2 separate regions of the Homo sapiens genome follow, and region 1 is linked to region 2. The links are contacts of gene promoters, found by promoter capture Hi-C in blood cells and fetal thymus (Javierre and others, 2016). All regions are on one chromosome and are shown on one strand. Each heading gives the region's core, a stretch centred on a gene start or on the middle of the fragment in contact. The rest is flanking DNA. Distances are from core to core; before and after follow the strand shown.

Region 1 (6,775 bases), core at 3,704-6,203, 1.3 Mb after region 2:
TCCTCCTCGCGCTCCTGCAGCCGCGCCGCAGCCGCTCAGCGCCCCCCGCCCCCGGGAAGCCCCCCGCCCGCAGTTCCGGCCGCGCGGCGCCCCCCGCCCCCGCGCCCGCGGCCGCCCGCGCGCTGTCCCAGCCCCGGCGCGCCTCCCCCGGCGGGCGGGGCGGGGACCGTGACGCGTGCCCATTGACGTCTCCGGAATCCCGGCGGCGGCGGCCGACGCAGCCTCATCAATGGGGCTAAAAATAGCGGCGCCCGGAATAGCCGCGAGCGCCCCGCCCCGCGGCTCCCCCCACGCCGCACACCCGGTTACATAACCCGCGGCCAGAGCCGGGGAGCTGGTTCTCAGGTGAGGGTGCCGAGGTCTCGCTCACACCTTCCGAGGCTGGGCACCTGGGGCTAGGTTATAAAGAAACTTAGCCGGGGCTTCCCCAGGAAGAGGTGGAAAGAGCGAGGCCCAGAGAGACTCGGTGGCGGTCCAAAGTCACAGCGATTCGGCTGCTGGCGAGGACAGGGCCTGGCCTTTGAGTCTGCGGGCGCCCTGCCTGCATCGCTTGGCATTCATGCCACCCCAAGGGCAAGGAACCCAGGTAGCAGGGCACCCAGCTTCCACACGAGAAGGCAGCTTACAGAGAAATAGGACTTTCTCCTGAAGAGGGCACTTCCCGAGGCGGGGGTGCAGGCCCCGGCAAAGCCCAGGTGATGGATTCACTGATCTGGCTGCTCCCATACCACTGTGTGACTTAGGACAGTCACTTGACCTCCTGAGCCTCAGCTTCCTCGTCTCTAAAACATGATATGATCAGATTATCCACCATATCTGGCTGTCAGGATGATAACAGCTGTGGAGGTGCCTTGTACACAGTAGATACTGAGTTAGTTCTCCCTGCTCTCCCCAATCCAAAGGAGTGCTTCATGCACTCAGAGGCCCACCACCGTGACCAGGAAGCCCTGGGAAGCCCACCCTCCTCTGACCAGAGTCTTCAGGCCCAGGCTTCCATGGTAAGAATTTTCCTGGGGGTGCAGGCACTTGGAAGGTTTCTCTCTCCCATGTGACTGGAGCCCTCTTTGGAAATGGAAGAACCATCCTGTCCTGAGCAAATCCTTCTCCCCCAGCAGCTGCCCACTCAGGAGAGGCTGGTCAGGAAGGCCCGGCCAAAGTTGGAGCAATGGGATTGGGGCTGGCTGGGTGGGGTTGGGGGTTACCATCTCTGCTCCTATACCCCCGTACAGGCAAGGTCATTGGGGAACACCCATTAGGGAGGATCCAGTCATGTGCTCTGCTGTGCCAGCCACTAGCCCCTGATCCTTTTTGGAGCCACCTTAAATTATGAGCATGCTATACAATCTCCAGCACCCAGCCCAGGCCCCACGCAGCAAAGAATCTCTTCTGTGCTCAAAATTCTCCAAAAGAGGCCCCACACCTCCACTCAGCCCTCATTCCAGGGGCTGCATTCCTCTCTCCACCCCACTGCCCACCCCCAGAAATCCTTTGCTGGACAAATCCTAAACTCTTGGCGCAACTCAGAATTCCCTTTCTCTCATTCTTCATAATGATTCCAAGAACCTCTGCAGAGTTTGTCTCTCAAAATCACATCCCAAGAACCTGTACATTTCTCTCCCAGGTTCAAGTATTAGGTCAATTTGCAGATAAAGAAACTGAGGCTTCAAAAATGACAAGGCGTTGGGGTGGGGGAAAGGGACTGACTTTTCCTCACTCACCCTGTGCCCTCCTGTTTCCTACCCCAGCAGCTTCTTTCACATGGGCTTCTTAGAGGAGCAGCTACCCCACCCCCTCTTTTCCTTTCTTTTTCCAGAAGTCTAACTTTTGAAATACATTTTAAAATATTTGCCTGTGTGGGAGAAATACATTTATTTAGACAGGAAGGGAAAAAAAGGGCTCAGTTACCAGTTTTTCCATGAAGGCTTCCAGCCCACAGAGGTCTCTCCTTTCCATAAATACTTTTAGCATAACTTGTCTTTATTATATATTCTCCTATTTATAATCAAATAAAACATATTCTAAAATGTGGAATGCCAGAACACGCACGCTTTGGGTGGCATGTGGAGGCGGCGTGAGATGGTGGAAGAAGCAGTCTCTAGAGGTCTGGGATGGACACTGGTTGTCGGAGGACTGAACAGATGTGGAGGTACCTTGTACACAGCAGGCACTCAGAGTTAGTTCTCCTCCCTGCTCTGCCCTAGGAGTCTCATTTCCCTAACCCACAAGAGGCTCTACCTCTTACCAGCTGCATGACTCCAGGGAAGTTACTTGCCCTCTCTGGGCTTCAGTTTCCTCACCTCAAACACAAAGATGATAAGAAACCTATCTCACAGGGTTGCCATGAGAGTGCCTCTTTGAGAGCAGACATAAAGCATGAAGCGGAGTCTGGCACATCATGGCAGATCTGCCATTTCCATACAGGAGGACTTGGAGGACTTGGGACCTTGTCTTGAAGCTGTACATCCAAGGTGCTTACCCTAGCTTTGCCCAGCCAGTATGTTTATTGGGAATACTGGGGGCCGTGGGGGCTGCACAGATAGGAGCAATGTCGCTTCTTAGTCATTACAAATGTCCAGTAAACGTCTGCCCTGTTGTTGTCTCCCTGATCCAGGTCACTCAGCTAGTGAGTTGCCCAGCCAGAACCATAGCCCTGGTCTTCTGTCTCCATAGCCCTGGTCTTCTGACTCCCAGGCCAGTGCTCTTTCTACCCAGCCTCTTGTTCCTTCATATCTAATTCCTCTCCTTTCTACAGGCACTGCTTCACAGCCCCTATTGCAGATAGGAAAGGTGAGGAGAGAAAAGGTGAACAACGTGCATGGCCCAGGGAGTCGGAGCAGAGGGGAGACAGGCCACCATGGCCAGTGACGCCCCACATTGTGGGAGGTTCCTAGAGGACAAGCTCCTACACAGAAAGCTGGCTCCTAGTCTGATGGGGAGGCAGGACACAAGAATAGGTATGGAAACATTGCCAGGACATCCAAGAAGTGGCCTCCAAGAAGCCTTGAGCTGGCATTGGGGTAGAATCTAGAGGACTAGTCTCAAGAGGCCTCCCTGGAGGAAGAGAATGTAGGGCCCAGTGTGAAAGAAGAGACAGGACCAGGCAGGGTATAGAGAAAAGGCACTCCATGGAGGAGAGAGGCTGCCCCCAAACCTTAGGTATGCGGCAGGGCAGGGCTGAGATCCTGAGGGTGGGAAGTAGTGGGCCAAGGTAAGCCACAGGACCCAGGACCATAAGCCAGACTCTCAGTGGCCCTCCCCAGGTGCCCTTCCATCTCACAGCATCTGAAACTCCACCCCACCTAGGAGACACCCTTCCACTCCACCTCCATCCTGGCCCTCGGGGGCGGGGGTAAAAGGATGTCAAGGGGGTTCCCTAGGGCATTTGGGCAGAGAAGGGGCTCCCCTGCTCAGGCCCTGGCCCTGAATAAGGAGAGGGGCTGTGGAAGGGATTCCCTTCATGGTTTCCTTCCTCTTCTTGAGGATCAAGAACTACCTGGCCGGGGTCCCCCGACCTCTCCCCAGGCTTAAGAGCAATTTAAGGGCCGAAAAAATAGAGACACAAAGACGGGTCTTCCTGGGGCTGTCTCAGGGCTCAGGGGCTGTCCAGAGACACCGCCCAGATGGGGTTACACTCTCCAGATTGCATAAGGATGAGGAGACCCCACTTGGTGTTTTCGAAGCACTTCCACGTTTGCTCTACTTAGTTGCCATGGAAGGCGTCAGGGCCCCAAGAGAAAGTGGCCAAGGTCTCCAGACCGGAAATGGCAGAGCTGGAATTAATGCGAGATTTCCCCTAAATCCAGGCCAGGGCTCTTAAAAATCCTCTGCAATTTTATTTGTTAAATTACAAAATCAAACATGCTCGTGGTAAACAAATGTGAGCGTTTCAGGCCTGCGTGATTTACGAAGTGAGAGGCCCGTAATCGCACTCCCAGAGGAGCGAGGATTTGGTCATCCTCCGACGACGGCTTCCAGATTTTTCTCCGCGTCGCCAGAGATGGGATCTGGCCCGGCGGGTCCTCCCTGAGGGGCCCGCGACCGGAACGCCGGGCCGGAAGGAACAGGGCCGAGCCCCAGCTGCGCTCCCGGGGGCGGCCGGGCTGGGCGGGGTGGGGCCGGGGAAGCCGCTACGTCACTAGCCAGTCCGGAGGGAGCCGCAGCAGGTCCAGCCAGGATTCCATTACCTCACCCGGCGGCGCAGAGCTGCGGCTCGGTCAACACCCCTGCACACCATTGGCTACGGTGCCGCCCCTCCGACCAATAGCACGGGCGCATGCAAATGAACCATTGAGCCGAAGCTTCCTTCGGGTCTGCTGCAGGCGAATAGACGTCATTGGGAGGATGGGGGAAATGAGTTAAGAGGGGTCCCGAAATCTGTAGAGTGCTGGTTTGGGGGCTCGCCATCCCAAATCTGTTCCAGCCTGTCCTGAGGAAAATGGAGTGTAATTAAGGGTGAGCACCCTTAATTCTTGAGCTGTCTTTCCAGATACACCTCGCTGCTTGGAGATTCAGTGAACCTAAGAAAAGGTGCAAAAACTATTTAGGTCAACTTGGAGAGCAGGGGAAGGAAGAAATAAGAAATAAAGAGGTACCGAAAGCTGGAACATACTTCGGAGAAACACCTAGGCCAGCCCTCTCACTGGAAACACAGCACAGCACAGAACAAAACAGACACAGCTCCTGTCCCCGGGCTGACAGCCAAGTAGGAGAGATGAATGTTCAACAATCTTGCACATAAGCAGTAAGTGCCATGGTGTTAGCCAGCGTTCTCCAGAGAAACAGAACCAATAGGATGGATATACAGAGATATAGAAAAAGATTTATTATGAGGCATTAGCTCCCATGATTATGGACGCTGAGAAGTACCCAGGATCTGCCCTCCGCAAGCTGGAGTAGTTCCAGTCCGCGTCTGAAGGTGCAAGAATCAGAGCATGGATGTCTGAAGCAGGGAAAATATGGTGTCCCACCTCAAAGAAGAGCAAATTTGCCCTTCCTCTGCCTTTTTATTCTATTCAGGTCCTTAACAGATTAAATTATGCCTGCCCATAGCGGTGAGGGCGGTCTTCTTTACTCAGTCTACTGATTCAAATACTAATCTCTTCCAGAAACAGCCTCACAAATACACCTAGAAATAACATTTTACCAGCTATTTGAGCATCCCTTAGCCCAGTCAAGTTGACACTTAAAATTAACCATCACGGTGGCTCAAGCCTGTAATCCCAGCACTTTGGGAGGCCGAGGCGGGCGGATCACTTGAGGCCGGGAGTTCCAGACCTGCCTGACCAACATGGTGAAACCCCGTCTCTACTAAAAATACAAAATTAGCTGGGCGTGGTGGCGGGCACCTGTAATCCCAGCTACTCCGGAGGCTGAGGTAGGAGAATTGCTTGAACCCAGGAGACGGAAATTGCAGTGAGCCGAAGGTTGCAGTGAGCTGAGATTGCGTCACTGCGCTCCAGCCTGGGCAACAGAGCGAGACTCCGTCTCAAAAAAAAAAAAAAAAAAATTAACCATCACAACCATAAAGAGAAAATGAAATGGAGGATGTCAGTGAGATATTTAACAGGCAGCTGTAATTTTCGCAAGGGATGGATAAGAGAAAGCTTCTCCAAGGAAGTAGCTTTTTTATTTGTTTGTTTGTTTGTTTTGAGACGGAGTCTCACTCTGTCACCCAGGCTGGAGTGCAGTAGCATGATCTCGGCTCACTGCAACCTCTGCCTCCCAGGTTCAAGCCATTCTCCTACCTCAGCCTCATGAGTAGCTGGGATTACAGGCGCATGCCACCAAACCTGGCTAATTTTTGTATTTTTAGTAGAGATGGGGTTTCACCATGTGGGCCAGGCTGGTCTCACACTCCTGACCTCATGTGATCTGCCCGCCTCGGCCTCCCAAAGTGTTGAGATTACAGGCGTGAGCCACTGTGCCTGGCGGGAAGTAGCTTTTAAACTGAGGGAAGGCTGGGCACCACTGGAGGCTCATGCCTGTAATCTCAGCACTTTGGGAGGCCGAGATGGGAGGATCATTTGAGCTCAGGAGTTTGAGACCAGCCTGGGCAACGTAAGGGAGACTTTGTTTCTACTAAAAGTAATAATAATAATTAAAAAATAGCCTGCTTGGTGTTACGGGACTATGGTCCCAGCTACTTCAGGGCGGAGGTGAGAGAATCACTTGAGCCCAGGAGTCTGAGGCTGTAGCGAGCTGTGACAGCACCACTGCACTCCAGCCTGGGCGACAGAGTGAGACCCTATCTCAAAATAAATAAACTGAGGGGAGTTTGTCGGTGGAGAGTTAGGGGAAAGGGATAAGTTGCAGGGAGAGGAAACAGTAATGAAAGAGTGCCAGCTTGTTAGAGCAGCAGAGTAAGGCAAGTGGCTGGAGGCCAGTGACTAAGGGGGACAGAGCTGGGGATGCGCGAGAGGAGCACTCAGCCCAATCCACAGGCCCTTGTGCCAGACTCTGTGCCGATGACTTTTTTCCTTTGTCTCTTCTTTCAGCAGCCATCTAAGGTGGGCACTATTTTAGTATTGAGGAAACTGAGGCTCTAAAAGGTTAAGTAGGCCAGGTGTGGTGGCTCGCGCCTGTAATCCCAGCACTTTGGGAGGCCAAGGCAGGCGGATCACATGAGGTCAGGAGTTCGAGACCAGACTGGCCAACATAATGAAACCCCGTCTCTACTAAAAATACAAAAATTAGCCCAGCATGGTGGCCTATGCCTGTAATCCCAGCTACTCAGGAGGCTGAGGCAGGAGAACCACTTGAACCTGAGAGGTGGAGG
Region 2 (6,393 bases), core at 1,111-3,610:
CACTTGGGCCCCAGTGGCAGCAAACTGCAGCTGTTGCCCATCAACGGTCTGGAACTGTGGGATTACTTGATACTGAATATTAGGCATCACTCCAGGTAGTCCTGTCAGAACTTGCTGGTTCTGTAAGTTGGGAGCGGCAGCCACAACATACTGCCCACCAGAGACTGTGCGATTCTTGGAAGACTCACTGCCATTGCTGCCATTGGTACTGCTGCCACTCTGTTCCTTTGAGGTAGGGGTAGCCCCAGAGGAGGAAGAGATGATCTGCCAGCCATTGGCACCCTGTGAAAGTTGTGTGGCTGTGAGGTCAAGCTCACCTGTTCCCCCTGACTGACTCGGGCCCTGGGAGTTGTTGCTGTTCTCATTGGGTGACTCAATTCTGCTGCAAGTTGCTGCCAGCAGAGCCAAAGGGGATGGCTGGGACTCCTGGCCGAAAATAAGGGAGAGGAAAGGAGTTAGTGACACCCAGCTGCCAGCCTAGGGGGCAGTATACAACAAATAAACAGCAACGTAGTGCAGACAAGGAGCAAAAAACAGAAACAAAAAGCTGACCTATCTGTATTGCTGAAACTCCTTTGTCTTTGGGGATCTCCATTCTCTTACTTCCTTATCTATAAAATGGTTTAGTCTCTCCCTAAAACGCTTTCTGTGAAGAGTAAGGCAATTATCTAAGAATATTTACATCTTCTCAACACCTTCCCCACTCTATGATTATCACTTACCTGCCCTCCTCCTCCAGTGCTGCTGCTACTGCCTGTGCTGCTACTTCGAGCCTGTGAAAAGGCACCACCACCATTACCATTGCCCCCATTATTGCCACCAACTCCTTTTTCAATTTTCACCACAGCTGTCATTTCATCCATGGAGTGATCTTGGTCTAAAATAATTAAAAAACAAACAACGTAAACTTGAGGGAAGAAAAGAAATGAAGTAGGAAGGATAAAAGGAGGCTATGATGAAATAGCAATGACTAACAGGAAGGCGAAAGCCACCAGTATAAAGAAAATGGATTGGAGGGCAGAGGGGAGCTGCAGGGCATGCAGGACATGAACTAGGTTCAATGTGCCAAAAGTGGGCCTTAATTCTCCCTTGTACAAAATTAAACTAAGAAAACATTCAAAAAGTGCTTTGGGGATAGGAAATGTGAAGGACGGTAGGCATGGTGAGAGTTTCTAAATAAGAAAAAGTATCCTAAGGGAAAAAAAGGAAAAGGACAGGTAAGGCATAAAACAACATGTGGGTGCATGGAAAGCTTGCTAAAATTAAGTTTAAAAGAGATGGAGAGGCCAGGCGCGGTGGTCACGCCTGTAATCCCATTACTTTGGGAGGCGGAGGCAGGCAGATCACCTGGGGTCGGGAGTTTTGAGACCAGCCTGACCAACATGGAGAAACCCTGTCTCTACTAAAAATACAAAATTAGCCGGGTGTGGTGGCGCATGCCTGTAATTCCAGCTACTCCCGGAGGCTGAGGCAGGAGAATCGCCTGAATCCGGGAGGCAGAGGTTGCAGTGAGCCGAGATCGCACCATTGCATTCCAGTCTGGGTAACAAGAGCGAAAACTCCGTCTCAAAAAAAAAAAAAAAAAAAAAGACAAACAAAAATCCAAGTGTGAAAAGTAACGAGAGGGGAAAAAGAAGTAAAAAGTGTGAGTAGAAAAACATTTGTGAATACTGCTAAGGAACTAAAGGGATCTACAGGTTAGTAGTCAGAAGGTTTCGGGGCGGAGGGCGGGCCCTGAGGGAAAGGGCGGTTTCGGGGTGAGGGGCGTGGAAAGGGCGGGACGGTGGGGGGCGGGGGGGAAGGGAAATCTACGGAAAGTGGGGGGAGGAGGGCCTTGGAGCAGGCGGCGACCAGAGGGCGGACCAGGCAGGCGGTTGGCCCGGGCGGGGCCTTCGCTGCTCGGGCCGCCCCCGCGGCTCCAGCCCCCGGCGGGAGGAGCCTCAGGCGGGCGGCCGAGTAGTGGGGGGTAAGGCCCGTCCCCCGTGGCCGGGGCGGGCAGGGGGCGGGCGAGGCCACGCTGCCCCCTCCCCCGGGGCGGGCGGCCCATCCCCCTCCTCCTCGGAGGCCCCGCCACTGCCCCGTCTCCCTCCCTTCCCTCCGCCCCGGGCGGGACCTAGGCCGCCGCCGCCGCCGCCTCCCGCCCGCCCCCGCTTCACGGCGGGGATCGCCCGGTCGGCCCTCGCGCGCGCCCCCTCACTCGCCTCCCACCCCTAAGCTTGGAGTGGACTCATCCTTACCGCTCATGGTGGCAGCTGAGGGACAAGCTCAAGGGGGTCCTGTCCGGGGGGGTTGGGGGGGGCCGGGAAAAACGCGGACGCTGACGAGGCAAGCGAACCCGGACCGGACAGGGAGGGGGGGGTAAGGAGGAGGGAGCAGCGCGCCACAAGCCCAACCTAGGCCCCGCCCCTTCTCTGCTGCCCCGCCCAATGAGGGAGGGGGAAAGGAGGGACTTGCAGAAGAAAGACGGTGGAATTATCCAATGGCAAGACTCGCTTGCTCTCCAAGGCGTGTGAGACTAAGTTGCGTGCCTGGTGTCCGCCTAAAAAGACCGCCCTCTCAGTGTTAAAAGCCAATGAAGGATGCAGGAAGTGAAGATGGGCGGGAGCTGGAGATGATTGGCTTGGAAGGAAACCAGTCAACCGGCAGGCGGGCTCCCTGAGACGTAGGGATAGGCAAAGCTTTGATAGGAATGACAGAACAACGGCCAACCAGAATCCGGGATATGCTTGGGCAAAATCCTAGTGGGCGGAGAGGTAAGAAGTAGGCAGGAATAGGAGAGGATGAAGCTGATTAAAACCAATCAGAAATCAGGCGGGCAGCCAGGAACGTTATGATTGGAGTTAGACTGAAAAGAGACAGGAAAGGACGCATATTGACGTGAACTAAAAGCCAATTAAACGCCGAATTAACTGAGGGCGGAAACTTGGAGTGGCAGAGGAGAATTGGCGGCTCCCTCAGTTATTCAATCCAATGAGGGGACGAAGTAGGCCTGGCACCGCCTCCTAGTTAGCCAATGGGCGTTACTGGAGCTGCCCATCATGAGGGAGGGAAGAGGGCTATGCCAAGAGGAGACCGTCGCCATATTGGCCCTCCTCAGGGGACGTTGTTACAGTCATTAGGTGGGACGCTTTAGCGGAGTCCTGCAGCTCAACAGGTGTCAGAGCCAAGGCATTCGGCGCGCAGTTCCGCATCAACACTAGGACTTGTTTGCGTCTTCATTTAACTGCCCCTATAAAGTACCTCTCAAATCTTACCCCCCTCCCGGGTGGTCGGACAGGCGGGCAGATGCCTCAATGTCGCTGCAAGCCCTGGGAATGCAGGCGGGACGAGATCTGGTGACAGCACTCACCGAATAAGTTAATACTGAGCTGACCAATATGCAGAGTCTCCGTGAGACTCCAGAAAACGCGATTTTATTAAGTTCCCCCAGACAAAGGCGCTAACCACTTAAACGACTGGTTAACTTTTCAAGCCTTGAGGCTAAAGTGCGGATAAGTCACTTCCATTTTTTCCCCCTTAATAGTAAATACCGCCTATGCATAAAGCAAGATAGCTGAGCTCCAGCTTTTTGCAATCACGAAGGTTAAGAAACTTTACTGCAGGCACCTGGATTTCTGGCCTCCTCTTTATCCGTGTTTTGGTGGAGCCGGCCTTAATAGCTTGTCAATGACACGATGAGGTCATGTCCTTCAGTATTTGTATCTTATATGTTGTCACCTGCTTATATGTTCTTATGTTTTAAAATGTGAATTCTCCTAAACTATTTTAAGCCCTTTGAAGGTAAGAACTGAGGCCTCTGCTGCTTTAAACAGGTAAAAAGGTGAAGTGATTGCTGACTGCCTACCGTGTTAGGTGCCTAAGTCAGGGAGGCAGTTAGTATTCCATGTCATCCTTAAAAGGAAGATTTTATTAAGTATCAGCTATATTATGTATTTTATAAGTGAAGACATTTAGGCTGAGAAGTGACTTACCCAAGGTCACAAAGCAAATGAGTTGTAGTGTTAGATTCCAACCCAGAATAGTTCCACCAAAAGTTTTCTATAAATTCTTGAGGGAATTAAACTGCCGCCGGGCGCAATGGCTCAGACCTGTAATCCCAGCACTATGGGAGGCCGAGGCGGGCGGATCGCTTGAGCCCAGGAGTTAAAGACCAGCCTGGGCAACATGGTGAAACCCCGTCTCCACAAAAAATAACAAAAATTAGCCAGACGTGGTGATGTGCGCCAGTAGTCCCAGCTACTCGGGAGGCTGGGGTGGAAGAATCGCTTGAACCCAGGAGGTTGAGGCTGCAGTGAGCTCAAATCCTGCCACTGCACTCCAGCCAGGACAACAAAGCAAGACCTTGCTCCAAAATAAGTAAATATATAGACTGGGCGCGGTGGCTCATGCCTGTAATCCCAGCATTTTGGGAGGCCGAGGCAGGCGGATCACCTGAGGTCAGGAGTTCAAGACCAGCTTGACCAACATGGAGAAACCCCGTCTCTACTAAAAATATAAAACTAGCCAGGCATGGTGGGACATGTCTGTAATCCCAGCCACTTGGGAGGCTGAGGCAGGAGAATCGCTTGAATCCAGGAGGCAGAAGTTGTAGTGAGCCAAGATCGTGCCATTGCACTCGGGCCTGGGCAACGACAGTGAAACTCCATCTCAAAGAAAAAAAAAAAAGTAAATATATAGATGCTTTTTAATTTTTACTGTCTAGCTCCTGAAAAAAAAAAAAAAAAGCCTACTCCCAGGACGGATCAAATGGCATCATCCTCTTAGATACCTTTATTATAAAATTTATCAGAATACATGACAATTAATTTCATCTCTCACTGTATCAAGGTTTCTCAAAATGAAATGTCACACACTCTCAGAATCCTCTGGGTTCTTTTTTCAAAAAAGGCAGATTCCTAGATTTCCACCCTAAACCTATTTTTAAGTAGCTCTTTCAAGTGATTAGGCCCTAAACCTAGTTTAAAACACACCAAGAAGGCTGGGCGCAGTGGCTCATGCCTGTAATCCCAGCATTTTGGCAGGCAGAGGCGGGCAGATCACTGGAGGTCAGGAGTTCGAGACCAGCCTGACCAACATGGTGAAACCCCATCTCTACTAAAAATACAAAAATTAGTCGGGCGTGGTGGTGCATGCCTATAGTCCCAGCTACTCGGAAGGCTGAAGCAGGAAAATCGCTTGAACCTAGAGGCGGAGGTTGCAGTGACCGGGGATCATGCCACTGCACTCCAGCCTGGGCGACAGAGCAAGATTTGGTCTCAAAGAAAAGAAAAGAAAACAAAACAAAACAAAAACACCAAGAGAAGAAACTGGGGAAAAGAAACTTCCAGAAAGGGAGAAATTTCCTGGAAGGAAGAAACTGCATTACTCATCTTTGTAAACCAAGCTCTGAAGATTCTAATAGCTGTTTAGTCCATTCAGCAACTGTCCATACCTAAACTTGCTTAGGGGTGGAGGTAGGGAGAGGAAACTTAACACCGTGGAGGAGTATTCTAAACATTTCACATATTTATCTAATTTAATTATTCCTACCAATTTAAGAGATAGTTGTCCCCTTTTACAGATGAGAAAACTGAGGCTCAGATATTTTAGTTAAATTATGACTGTTCTGTTTAGTTCCAAAGCCTGTGTTTTTTCCATAGTCCTAGACTACACCCGAATTGGGAATTAGGATAAAATTAAACTGACAAAAAGACCTAAATTCAGAAATTCAATAGCCATCATCCTTTTTACAATCCTTTCCCCTTTGCTCCTCCAGAAGAAGACAATTCAGCATGAGGCCAGTGAGGAATGCCCTAGACGTATACTAGTTTATTGATAGTCCCTGAGAGCAAATGAATGACATGATCCATCTTGTCCAATTGCTCTGTAAAAACCTGAAAAAGTGTTCTTTAGACTGAAAAAAAAAAACAAAAACAAAAAAACCAACTTATATCAAGGCTATTCAGATCCCTTACATGCACACACGCAGTGTCTATCTTTTCTTTTTTTTTTTTGAGAGTCTCACTCTGTCTCCAAGCCTGGAGTGCAGTGGTGCGATCTCAGCTCACTGCAACCTCTGCCGCCCAGGTTCAAGTGATTCTCCTGCCTCAGCCTCCCAAGTAGCTAGGATTACAGGTGCACGCCACTATGCCTGGCTAATTTTTGTATCTTAGTAGAGATGAGATTTCATCATGTTGGCCAGGCTGATCTCAAACTCCTGACCTCAGGTGATCCTCTGCCCACCTCGGCCTCCCAAAGTGCTGGGATTACAGGTGTGAGCCACTGCGCCCGGCAATTTTTTTTTTTCCTGAGACGGAGTCTTGCCCTGTTTCCCAGGCTGGAGTGCAGTGGCGCGACTTTGGCTCACTGCAACCTCTGCCTTTCAGATTGAAGCAATTCTTTCTGCCTCAGCGT

What was found. Contacts are between HindIII fragments. The CHiCAGO score rates a contact against its expected background, and 5 or more counts as called.
Region 1: a contact is called between a fragment that was not itself captured here and the fragment with the promoter of SP1 in region 2, in 1 of 17 cell types (fetal thymus). The highest score is 5.2, in fetal thymus.

What each region holds. Positions count from the first base shown.
Region 1 is chr12:52,030,510-52,037,284 of GRCh38, reverse strand. It overlaps LOC124902934 (a long non-coding RNA gene), which reads right to left. Exons shown (of 2, transcript XR_007063311.1): 2 at 3,812-4,517. It also overlaps a transcript of NR4A1 not described here. Among named protein-coding and RNA genes, the nearest start is that of NR4A1, 18 kb to the left of the region's middle. RefSeq lists silencers at 82-291, 3,959-4,288. The HindIII fragment of the contact is 1,305 bases long and covers 4,301-5,605 here.
Region 2 is chr12:53,376,143-53,382,535 of GRCh38, reverse strand. SP1 (Sp1 transcription factor) reads right to left here and starts at 2,360. Exons shown (of 6, transcript NM_138473.3): 1 at 2,238-2,360; 2 at 723-877; 3 at 1-426. The coding sequence starts at 2,244. RefSeq lists enhancers at 166-415, 828-1,586, 2,437-2,731, 2,564-2,863, 2,767-3,267 and a silencer at 1,694-2,323. The HindIII fragment of the contact is 463 bases long and covers 2,218-2,680 here.